Regions from separate parts of the Homo sapiens genome. Here region 1 is linked to region 2. The links are contacts of gene promoters, found by promoter capture Hi-C in human tissues and cell types (Jung and others, 2019). All regions are on one chromosome and are shown on one strand. The core of a region is centred on a gene start or on the middle of the fragment in contact, and the rest is flanking DNA. Distances in the headings are between cores, read along the strand shown. Region 1 overlaps CAVIN2-AS1 (CAVIN2 and TMEFF2 antisense RNA 1). Region 2 holds the start of TMEFF2 (transmembrane protein with EGF like and two follistatin like domains 2).

Region 1 (6,306 bases), core at 1,601-4,100, 330 kb before region 2:
CAATACAATTGATTAAATACAAACTTTCTATATGTTAGCTGTAATTCCGCCCTTAGGATACACCCTTGTCACCTTATTTAGTTTGAGAAATATTCTCTACTTTGTTTGGATTTAGAAGTCACTTTGGTCTTATTTTTACAAAACAAGGAAGTCCCCTGGTCTTATTAGCCCCACTTTTACAAAATACTTATTACAATAGGTTATAATGTAGACAAGCAATTTGCACTCATTTTAATTAATTTTTTTTAGCCTCAATTGCAGAGCATAACATTTTAGTTACTAATCAAATTTGAGATTTGGGTAGGGACGGGAGAGAACATCTTACTCCAGCCCTGGCCACTGGCCAAGCAATGGAAGATAACTAGACAGTCCAGAGGAAAAGAAAAAAGGCAACTAAAATGAATTACATTAATGATGACGTTAAAATGTCCAAATGTACGTTACATAGTTTAGCTATGTAAACTTGACACCAGAGTAATGAGGAACAGAATATATGCTATGTATGTTTTGGAGTAAGTATTATTTTATTTTGGATCATAGGTTTGATACCAGTGCAGCAGTGTCATGTGCTGGTTGAGTGTGGGCTGTGGTGCCAGACTGTCTGGGAAAAGGTCCATGTATTGAGGCCCCATTTTAGGATAAAGGGACTAAGCCTTACAAGGGTTAAGTGACCTTGTGCAAGTCTCTTAACCTCTCTGAGATTTAGCTATAAAATGAGTTATAAAATGAGAAACATTAAGAGTACCTACTTCATGGGGTTGGTCTGAGGGTTAAATTAGTTCTACATGTAATGTGCTTGGTCTAATGCCTTTCGTGTGGTTAAAAACTCAGTGCATTTTAGTCGTCATTGCAATCATCTTACAGCTAGTGGTTCACAGGCTGGGATTTAGAGTCAGTTACCTAGATTCGAGTTCCAGCTTATTATTCTAGTTGTATAATATTGAGAAAATTACTTAATCTTTTGAAGCCTCACTTTTCTTATTAAATAAAACTGTGCTAATAATAATACCTATTGTGGTGTTAATGTTTTGTGGATTTGATGACACCACAGAGTGCCTATTACATACAGCTCAATAAATACTAGTCAGCTAGCCAAAATTACCTATGCTACCTCATTTTGCATGTATTCACTTCATATAGTCTTTCTGCTGTATATTTCATCATTCAGATCTTGACTTATACATCAGAGGTCTTGGATAGAGTACAATTTAATTGCTGTTTATCTTTATGTCCTCCTAACAGGAGACAACATTCTACCCTAAAAGAATCAAACAAACATGAAACTTTAAATAAAGTTGCAGCATTCATTTCAATTCAATAACTGTCTTTTTGAATTTCCATTATGTGCTAAGTGTGAGTCCTATAAGACACATTTCCACCTGGCAAAGGTTGAAGAAAAGCCAAATTTAAAAGGCTACTATAATTAGAACTTTCGCTAACGGCAGTTAAACCGATTAATGTCCAATGGGACCCACTCTACTGAAACATATTTTTTAGGCAGTTATACATTTATATTAAATTAAACATTCAGTGAATAAATGAGCTTATGTATCAGTGTCTCCATGTGGTTCTTGGAGTTAATTTTGTAATGATATAGCCAGTGCCGCTGAGGGCATCTCCCTTGCTGTTTTCTCTGCCTGGAGTTCTTCCTATTCATTCTCATATGGCTGGCTTTTTTCCCTCTCATTATTCAGCTAGTCTTCCCTGACCATCCTACCTTATAGGGGTGCCATCCTCAGTCTTTCTCTCCCTGAGCACCCTGTTGCATACTCTTCACATACCACTGTGTAATTGAAATAATACTGTTTGTGAGCTGCTCTTTGCCTGTGTCACTCACTAGATCTAAAGCTCCAGGAAGGCAGGGACTTTGTCTATATTTTTCATGGTTTGTATTATGTTTCTATTATTTGTAACAAATTACCATAAACTTAGCAGTTTAAAACAACGCACAGTTATTGTCTCACAGTTTCTGTGAGTCAGGAGTCCAGGGTTAGATTTGCTGGGTTTCACTAGGGTTAGCTCAAAATTTCACCAGGCAGATATCAAGGTATTGGCTAGGCTGCAGTCTCATCTAAGACTTGGAGTCCTCTTTTGAGGTCATTCAGGATGTTGGCACATTTCAACTTCTTGTGGCTGTAGAACTAACATCCTTTTTTTCTTGCTGGCTGTAAACCAGGGTGAGGGGGAGTGCTCTCAGTTCCTGGAGACTACCCAAGGGTCTAGACATGAGACATTCTTACAACATGGCAGTTTATTTCTTCAAGGCCAGCAGGAGAGTCTCCTATCTCTAGACCCTCTTTTAGGGGTTTGCCTAATTAGGCCAAACACACCCAGGATAATCTCCTTGTCATTAACTCAGAGTCAACTGATTAGAGACCTTAATTACATCTGCAAAATATCTTCACCTTTGCTACTTAATGTAACGTAATCAGAGGAGTGATATCTCATCATATTCACAGGTGTCACCATACTCGAGGGGTGAGGATTATACAGGGCAGGTAGACCAGCGGTGGGGATCCTGGAGGCCACCTTATAATTCTGCCTACCCACTGTTGTAGCCCATTTAAATGACAGTAGGTATTTAAACACATATTTGTGCATGAATGAGTGAATGAATGAGTAAATGTCAATTAAATAAATAAGAACGGAGGAATCAGTGAGAAATGTAAATAAACTGTTGGTTGTGTTCAGATATATGTTTAGCATCCTATATTGAGTTCAAAACAATCTTGTGATTGGATTGTCCACTTAATTCACTTTTCTTACTGAGGGACTTGTGACTATTACACCGTGTAAAGAGGAATCAAGTAGTATTTTTTGTATTATATTAGCAAAGTTTCTGTAGTATAGTCTTGATTAATATTTCTAACCAAAGGTCTTATGCAGATGAAGTTGTTAAACCTGAGGATACTAGAATGGCTTGCACATGAAAGCCCGGTTTATCATTAGCAAATCAGGATTAATTGATATTAGAACTTGGACTTCTGCTGTCTGTCATTGGAAATTTAATATTCCACTGTTTCCTCAAAACCAGAGAGAAGGAAGGCATTTTAATTTCTAGGAGAAATAATACAAAATTAGGTTCAGAAAAATGTTTTCCTGACTGTAGCTAAGATACTACTTTGTGGAATGACCCTGTAAAGGAAATGTAGGCACTCCTATTATTTGAGATATAGGAAACTACAGGGATGGGGCAGGCATAGGATAGTGTATTAGGCTACTCTAGCTGCCATAACAAAATACTACATGCTGGGTGGCTTAAAAACAGATATTTATTTTCTCACAGTTCTGGAGGCTAGAAGTCCATGATCAAGGTGCCAGCAAATCCTGTTTCCAGGGAAGGTCTCTTCCTGACTTTTAGATGGCCTCCTTCTCACTCTGTCCTCTTGCAGCCTTTCCTTGGTGCACACACAGGGAGAAAGCTATGCTCTTTCTTCCTTTTCTCATAAGGACATCAATCCTCTTAGAATAGGACTCCACTTAAGGTTAAATGATTAGGACCTTGTTCAGCCTTATTATCCTTGTAGGCCCAATCTCCAAATACAGTCACCTTGGGGGTTAAGGCTTCAACATGTGAAGTTAGAGAGGACATAGTTCAGTCCACAATAGATAGCTTAGAGAGCTATGAGGAACAAAGGAATCTTTGAAAGGGAGCAGGTTCAGTAGGGGGAGTAGGATTTCAGGCTTTCGCATTGGATCACTTGCATTTGAATTCCAGCTTCATCTCTTGCTTGCATTAGGGGCAAATCCAATTCTTATGGGGCCTAGGACTTAGACAATTTTAGAAACCCTCTTTAAGATAGAGAATATAAAGTTAGGTACAGAGTCTTGGAAGGGGGCTTATGCAAATAAGGGCCTCAGAAGCTTAAACTTTATTAATTTCTCAGTAAGTTCACCTCTGTTTGCCATTGAGCTAAGGAAATTACTATATCTGAGCCTGTTTTCTCAATGATACAATGGAGACAATTATTTTAAATCACAGGGATGTTGAAAGGATTAAATGATCACTACCAAGCTCTCCCACCTGTCTATTATTATTGCTACCTTTATTATTATTGTCACCATCATTATTATTCAGCCCTTTCATTTTACAGATGATAAAACAGGCAAAAAACTATTATATGACTTGCCTTACATCATACAACCAGTGAGCTGGGAGGTTGGGCCAGAGTCACCCCTCCTGCCTCCTGGTCTACACTCTTTCCATGGCTCCACAGAGACAGCTTTTTGTACCCCTTTCCCGGTGTTCACATCCCTGAAGAGGATGTTGGAATAGTATCATAATCTTCACCTATAATATTTACTCTATAGCTACTAAAAAATGAAAGAGGTCTAAAAAGCAGAGTTAATTTGGTTGAATTTAAGCTTCTTTTTTATTTTTATATACATTGAATGGGGATAAGGTCAATGAAATATAAAGCCATAATCATTAAATACACATTCTCATCATTTGTGGAAATTTCCAATTGGAAAGCTTAGCTTCCATCTTCATTTGGAGGAAATGATGACTTGGAAACAAAGATGTTTCTATGTTATCTCATTGCGAGTGATTCCCAAGGTCCCATTTGTGAATTCTGTTAGGGACATTAGAAGACTTTCCTGGGAAAGGTCTGAGGAGTCAGTCCCAGGGGCTCTAGTCGGCCCCTTGGAAATATGCACCAGATGACAGAACTTGGCTCTTCGTTTCTCTCGTGGCTCCAAGTACATGAAAATTTTTTCATGTTATCTTGGCTCTGGGAAAACCTGTGTCTCAGAGCTGGTTTTTAACACTTTTAAAGTACAGTTAATGTTGATTCCAATGTACCTAAACATTTTTTTCCCTATGACCCACCACATATATTTTGGCTTGCTCATCAGGGCTTGGCAATCCAAATATGACTGGTGTTAGACCCAAAGATGCTAGTCCTTGAAATTAGTACAGTGGAGAATAAATAATATTTGACTCAGGCTTTAAATCTTTGGTCTGAGTCTGAAGGGAAAAAATACAACCCTGTAATAAACATTTTTCTAATTTCTTTCATTTTCAAATATGGCACCACTATAGAATTTTTGTGAAACCATCAAAACAAACCATGTAGCAATCTAATAGAATCTATACATGTGTATGGTGTAGACCAGCATGGGGCTTTCTGACTCTGCTACTGACAACAATAAGCATGGGTAAATTGTTTAACCTGTAATTCTTACTTATGTACAAATAATAACATGAGGTTTTTGAAGTTTCTAGAGGAAAAAATGTCACTTATCAATAAGATGGTTATGAATACTTTATGGTTGTTGTTATTATTGTTATTAATATACCTATCAGAAATAATGTTTTGTGGCTAGAAAACCAGTGCTAATGTTTGCCTGCAGGATCTTCATGCCGACACTCCTGGTTCATCCATCTACCAGATCTGCTAATTGTTAAACAGGCATGAACATATAATAAAACAGAACAATTATTAGAACTAAGGGGACAGCCAAGCACATTTGTCAAGGAGCCTGTCCATTCTCTTTTTCATCCTTCAAGGTGGGCAGTGGAGAGGCTGGTGGGCTATTCCTCTGAGCTCTGCCCCTTTGCCTGGCCTCCTGACTGCAGGCCCTCTGCTCTGCTGGTTTCTGGCAACCATACCTTTACCCTGCAGTTTCAGTCTCACATCTCTATTGGCACTGAGTCCTCCACATTCCAGTTTTTCAATCTTACTAGAGATGTCTATTGGCATCAGGGCTCAACTCATCTGTCCTATTGTTTTAATACCTTGCAATTGCTTGAGTTAAGAGAGTTATAAAAGTTATAAAAGTTTAAATTCCTAGTAGACACGAAGATGAAAACACCTGATTGTGAGGACTACCAGTCTTTTCTTCATAAACTTGTTCGGATAAAATCAAAAGATATGAAAAACGATCTCTTGGTCAGTAAAACATCAACGCAACTTTTTATATGTACATGGATCCAAATATTATCTTCTACGGAGGCTCCTCATTTAACGTCCATCACCATGTTAGTCTGTATGCTGATATTTGCTAGCAAAGGATTGTTTACTTCTTAATGTTTCTAAGCAGAATAGTGGGTCCAGCAGCAGTATTTTCTCAGAACTGGATTTGGGACAGTGATTCTCAGCCATATCATTCATTCAACAAATGTGAGCTAGGCACTGTTCTGGGTGCTTGGGATAAATCAGTTAACAAGACAGACCCTTCCCCCACCAAAAATTTCCTGCCCTTATGGTACTTATTTTCCATGTAACATACATATATAAAAATACAGGTGGATTTCTACACTACAAATATTTCAGTGTTTTGCTTTTGGGATGCAGCAGTTTG
Region 2 (6,358 bases), core at 3,140-5,639:
TGACGTTACATGCATATTAAATATGCAAGAATATGTTTCTGACACTATGGTATGGTCTAAAAAACTGTACAGTCAGAGCACTACTTACCCACCAGGAGGTGGTGCACTTTACAAATATCAGTTGTCTTATTATGTTTCTTAGAAAGAATAAAATAATGTCTAAGAAGGTTTTAGCATTTCTAAAAGCCACTTAAACTTTATTTAAATGTGAATTCTCTTCTCTTTCTTAGTGGGAGGTTGAATTCCATCTAAAATATTTAAATTTCATCAATAATTCTAAATATTACTTATTAACCAGATATCTAGGTCTAAATTTGAGTTTATTGTTTTTATTTGTTCTATATCATTTTTATTCTTACAATCTTAGAAAAGTTTTCATTATCTCACATACAGTTTTGTTTATGTGCATATTTCCTGGTTGAGTCATATTGTCAGATTTTAAAAGTATTTTTAAAAGTAACTTAAAATACTCAAGGGCAAATATAGGCTATTAGTACAACATCCATGCTACTTGAAGTTCTGCATGATTATATGAACACTTTGAGAGGAAAAGTTTTATAACTTACATGGTGGAAAGCATTTGTTAGCTAATGACTATACTAATGACACTAAAAGTTCTATCTTTAATAGATACTAATAACCCAGTTTTGATCATGCCAGTAGTGCAACTTCTTTCTCTCTTTGTTAGTTAAAAGAAATTAACACAAGAAAAAGTACATTTCCTGATGTTCATAAAATGACTTGTGGATCTAAATGCTCTTCTGGATTCCTAGGGGATTCAGTTCTAATTGAGTGTGGTATCTATGAAAAAGCTGATATACACTAATTAATAAGTTCCATGATTTCCAAATTAGAACAAAGTGTTGAGGTTACACTAATAAGGAGTTACCTTAAAAACCTAGTCAGGTTGCAAGGATAATAAAGGCCAAGACCATTAAAACAGATAGCAATAAGATAAAAAGATGATAGCCCCAATCAAAAAGAACAAAAGAATAAGTCCACACTTCTTACCCCCTATTTTGACTATTATCCCCAGTCAATTCACTTTTAAAGTGATGCTAGAAGGGTCAGAGAAACATAATTTTCCTTTGACATCCCAAAAGCACAACCTGAAGCTTTCTACCTCCAGCAGCATTTATAACTTTGGCATATACATTTCTCCAAAAAGCGTATGTCTTCTTGACATCAGTTGGCTCTCTTGCTAGTACTTTTGCTTGGTGCCAGCTTCCCTCTTAGCTTGCATAGCTATAAATTTCCAAGTGATAGGCTGTAAAGGAAGATTCCTGCTTTGCAGTCTCATTAATGAATTAGAAGATGCAAATATAAGACTTCTTACCTTGAACTGACAGACGCAAGTCACAGTGTCTCCAATTCTTAAACATTCCCCATCAAATTTACAGGTGTTGGTGTCACAGAGGAAGAGATCATTTTCTCTGTCATCATAACCTCAAATTCAAAGAGAACACTCCAGTCATTAAAACATCTTACAGATTTTTAACAAAAAAAAGCACTACTTTGAAGCTTTAAAATACTTGTCCTAAATTTTAAATCCAACAACTATAGCTGTACTGCAAGGTCACTGTCTACTGATAACCTCAAAATCTAGTTAAGTGATCAATATTCGTTTCCATTTTCCACAATTCTTTTCTAGTCAATTCTCCTTTAGTATCCTTTTCTGATAGTGCTATTTTTTAAAGCTTGCGTTAATACTGACAGTGGTGAATGAAAGCTTAACATTTGCTTCCTGTTTTTTTTTTATTTTTATTTTTTGCTCATTAGGTGGACAATATTTATGACCACAAAACTCCACATTTTGGAAAAGAGCTAGTGATGATCTCTGAATACCCTTTTACCATTTCCCCATCTTTAATTGTTCTTTTGCTTCAACGACTGAAACAACCCCTTATTTGAAATGTATCCAGACAAAGAGGAAACAAAGCCTCAATAATAAAGATAAACAGGCACAGTGTTTTCTGTGATGGTCTGTTTGGCTCAAATGAAGATTGATCACCTCTAAGTTAACAGGGGTGGAAGCGGGGTGCCAAGTTCTTGACAACCTATCTGCAAAACCAGTTTATTCTCTTTAGTTTATGCAGTCCCCTTTAAAATATCTGGTAAATATGTAATTTCTTGATTGCAAATGTCAACTTCACATTTAAGTTAGTTATTTCCTAAAACAATGCAAGGGCTAGGAATGAAGCAAACCAGTCTGTGTTGGACTACAAAGCCATCAACATTTCCAAAAATTGTTTTTGCAGGCTCATAATTATTACCATAATAAAGCATCTAAAAAGTGATTAGGCAATAGCAAAGTGAAACTTATTCTTTCAAAAACAACACACATGTACGCATGAATCAAGAAGTTATAGAAACATGTTGAGTTTTATTAAAATGCCAAATTTAGAAACTGCCAAAAAAGAGAACAATCTATTGACCCAAATCTAATAGGGTTGCATATCTCAACTTGTCTTTGTAAAGGATAAATTAGAATGATGCATAATAATTTTCCTTTTGGCATTTACATCAGTAATAACTAGGAACTATACAGGCTTTCACCCTGAGTTACAGTTGGTCATTCCCTCCTCTCTAAAGTTACATACACTTCAGCTTATATACATCTTTGAAAGACACTTTATTCAGAGCCAGATTTAACTACAGCAAAATTATATTCACAGAAGATGAAAAATTACATACACACTTGCTAAAACTAGAACAGACCACACCTAGGGGACAATACCCAGGCATGTTAACGGAGTTTAAAATGCCAAGGAAATTACACCACAATTCTGCCCAGTATACTACAGGCTGTCAAACCGAAATGCTATGCCAGCTAGGAGTGCAGCAACTCCCATCCTCTGGCCCTATTTAATTAGGAAGCTTCAGCAGAGCGAAGCCTGCCAAGCGTTCGCCGTCAGAATCTGAAGGAACCCGAGCGAGCAAGAAGAGTGCCTGACCCACTCCACAGAAGCCTGTCCAGAAATGGAGGAGTCAGCGCCCACTGAAGTCGGTTCCGCCCTCGGCTCGCCTACATGGAGCCTGACCAGCCTCAGTCATGCCCACTCCGGCCTGGGAGACCCGCAAAGTGTTCTTTTTCTCAACTCCCCTGTACTACCTTGAAGCTTAGGGAAGCAAAGAGAGGGGCATATCTGGACTGCAAAACCAATGTCTTTTGCCGCCTAGGAGAGAAGGGAATGAGAGAGAGAGAGAGATAGATAGATAGAGAGAGAGAGAGAGAGAGAGAGAGAGAGAGAGAGAGAGAGAGAGAAATTCTATTGAAACCCAGCTCCTCTAGAATCTGTGTGACCTGGTCTTCAACGGGAGACCAGTGCGACCTCATGGCACCTTTGCCAGGAATCAGCGATTCCCCTGCAGTCACCATTTGATTTATTGCTTTCTCGCTCATTCTTTCTCATAAAGTTATTTCTTCCTCATCCTAGTAAGACTTTTTTCTTTAATGATGACAAAGCTTCTGTTTCAGTGTTTCCCCTAGGATTGGTGCTCTTTCAAAACAGTGAACCCAGAAAACCATCCCGTTTAATATTTCTCAAAATCCTCGCAGCTCCAATGTAAGCGCAAGCATGCAAAGGTTTCCTGCTACACCTGCACTTTCTGCCCATCCCAGAACCACCCCTCACCCCCGGGCCTGCAACAGTTCCCCTTGTTTCTCTGGATAGAGGTGGGTGGTATTAGGGGTCTAGGGCAGTAGGAGGTGAGGGGCTGAGGAGGCGCGCTAGGGTAGGCTGGTCTGTGCTGGATACGCGTGTTCTTCTGCGGAGTTAAAGGGTCGGGGACGGGGGTTCTGGACTTACCAGAGCAATTCCAGCCGGTGGGCGTTTGGCAGTCACTTAAGGAGGTAGGGAAAGCAGCGAGCTTCACCGGGCGGGCTACGATGAGTAGCATGACGGGCAGCAGCAGCAGCCAGCAAAAGCCCTCGCAAAGTGTCCAGCTGCTGCACTGCCGCGGGGACTCCCACAGCACCATGACTAGTTCGTGCAACTCTGCAGCAGCAAACGGCTTCCGAGGAACACAGGATCGCGGGGGCCGGGCAGCGGGCTACTGAGCATCCCGCGGACGGCGGCAGCAGAGGCGGCGGCGGTGGCAGTGGCACCCGGCGGGGAAGCAGCAGCCAAACCCGCGCATGATCTCGAGAGTTTCAGCAACATCCAGGGACTGGGCTCAGCCCCGGAGCGAGAGGGTCGTCCGCTGAGAAGCTGCGCCGGAGACGCGGGAAGCTGCTGCCATAAGGAGGGAGCTCTGGGAAGCCGGAGGACAGGAGGAGACGGGAGTCCAGGGGCAGACGAGTGGAGCCCGAGGAGGCAGGGTGGAGGGAGAGTCAAGGCGCCCCGCAGCCCGGCAGCCGCCTCTCGAGCTCTGCCGCCCGCATCCCTCTGGCGTTTGGGAAGCAGCAGGTCCTCAGCCCGCCCGGGGTCACGTGGGAAGAGGCAGTCGGGCTCTGATTGGTGGAGCAGGATGCAGGTCCCGGGAGGGAGGGGTCGACGAGGAGGTGCAAGGATGCAAGGAGGAGGCGGCCGCGGAAGCCACAGATGGGCTCGCTCGCCAGGCGCTGGCCCGAGTGGGGCTAGGCGGGGATGGCTCAAATGAGAAGCTCGGGCTTCAGGGTGGGCTACCCGCACACTCATATACCATTCGCCTCACTCTCCGCTCCAGGACGCCCCCTACCGAAGGCGGGGTCCGGACTAGCGCCCCTCTTCCGCGCGTGACCCCGGGCCGCGAGTGCGGGCCGCGGCTGGGTGGCGTCTCTCCGAGCTGGAGATGGTGGGGGCGGAGGTGTCAGAGGAGCAGCAGCAGCAGGGCAGAGAGGGGCGAGTCGGCGCGGGAGAGGGCGTCCTGCTGGCGACCGGCGCTCCAGCGTGCGGGAGCGCGCCGCCTAGGCTGTAGGGGGATGCAGGCTGGGAATGTCGCGGCGGAGAGGCCAGGGACGTTTCTCTAGGGATTTACAGGAAAGAGGGTGAGAGGCGATGGTGTTAGAACCGCTCTTGCCGACCTGGAAGCAACAGCAGCATCTCCCACAAGAGCGTGCAACCCCAAGGCTGCTCGCCGAGGCAGCTCAGCCATCCCGGCAGGCGCTCTCCTTCCTTCTCTCTTCTCCCCTCTCTCCTCCCAGGCCCCCCGCAGCTCCGACCCAGCCCAAGCGTTCGCAGGTTTGAATCCCTCTCCTCATCACCCGCTCCTCTCCAGCCCGTAGCCTATTAGTGTGTCCACCTGGGAGGTGCGGTCAGATGTGTTTGGAAGGTCAGATTGGTCGGGACAAGTGGTCTGAGAGAAAGAGAAAGGCTCCTCTGCATACGCCGCGGGTGGGTTGCCGGGAGCATCGGCCGGGCAGCGGCGTCCGGGAAGGGGAGAGCGGGCTCCATTTGTTGGCCCAGGCAGTGACCCTGCGTTCCTTACTCGGGTCTTTGCCGGATGGCCGGTGACCTGGGGCGACGAGAGAAGGTCTAACTCGGCAGGAGTCTCTGGCTCTGCGCGTTTCTTTCATTCTCTCCAGCGGGAAGGGCAAACGGCATAGCGGGACCCGCCTTCCGTCTGCTGCATTCTTCAGGCAGTTAGACACACTCTTTAGCCTAATGGAATTTTAGTCGCCAGTAACGGGACCAAGAGCTTTCGGGGACAAGGGTGGAGAGGAACATCTTTCTTCCATGACCGGGGTCACTATTGCAGTCTCAGTGTTTTGGATGCCCCATAGGGAAGAGCTTTCTTTTTGGTGTGTGATTATTCAGTGATTCCTGTTTTTGTTTTTGTTTATCTTCTCTCCGCTCTCCTTCTCTATTCCTCTCTGTTATCCCTCCTCCTTCTTCTCCCCCCGCTTTCAAAAGCCTCCGGATCCTCCCTTTTTCTATTTAAATTCTCCTTTTGTGCCCCTCTTTCTGTGTCCCCTGAATTTAGGAGAGCATTTGATAACATTTAACAGGCAATTAGTGTCCATTCCCAATCACTTAAAAGAGGCATTCATATACTTTGAAAACGGGACTATCTATCCTTTGCAGACACCAGCAGAAAAACAAATTGTACCCGAGTAATCCTTTTAAGTACTTTAACCTCCAACCTCCTCCCACTTCCTTGCTTTTTAACTTCTCCTTTGAGAGATGTGATCGTGCAGCACCTCAGTGCCTCAACGAAATCTTTTTTTTTTTCCTGTGTGAAATCCATCCCTTTATCTTACATCTCCGCCTCCGTCCGAGACTGTCCCTCTCCCCTCCCACCTCCAAAGATTTCTGAATCTCAGTGTCTCTCACTCCTGGCAATTAAGCAGCAGATCCCAGCATTCTAGTCGGTGGCATCTCGCTCCTCACCGACGAAGACTCCATTAAAACAGATCAATTAGACCAGACGTTGGAGG

Evidence for each region. Contacts are between HindIII fragments. The study calls those that stand out against the background at their distance.
Region 1: a fragment that was not itself captured here is called in contact with the fragment with the promoter of TMEFF2 in region 2 in 1 of the 25 tissues and cell types used here (mesenchymal stem cells).

What each region holds. Positions count from the first base shown.
Region 1 is chr2:191,857,738-191,864,043 of GRCh38, forward strand. All of the region lies in intron 1 of CAVIN2-AS1 (CAVIN2 and TMEFF2 antisense RNA 1), which reads left to right. Among named protein-coding and RNA genes, the nearest start is that of CAVIN2, 14 kb to the left of the region's middle. The HindIII fragment of the contact is 3,138 bases long and covers 1,282-4,419 here.
Region 2 is chr2:192,190,544-192,196,901 of GRCh38, forward strand. It overlaps TMEFF2 (transmembrane protein with EGF like and two follistatin like domains 2), which reads right to left and starts at 4,390. Exons shown (of 10, transcript NM_016192.4): 1 at 3,810-4,390; 2 at 1,337-1,446. The coding sequence starts at 3,981. RefSeq lists an enhancer at 4,336-4,911. The HindIII fragment of the contact is 5,375 bases long and covers 3,293-6,358 here.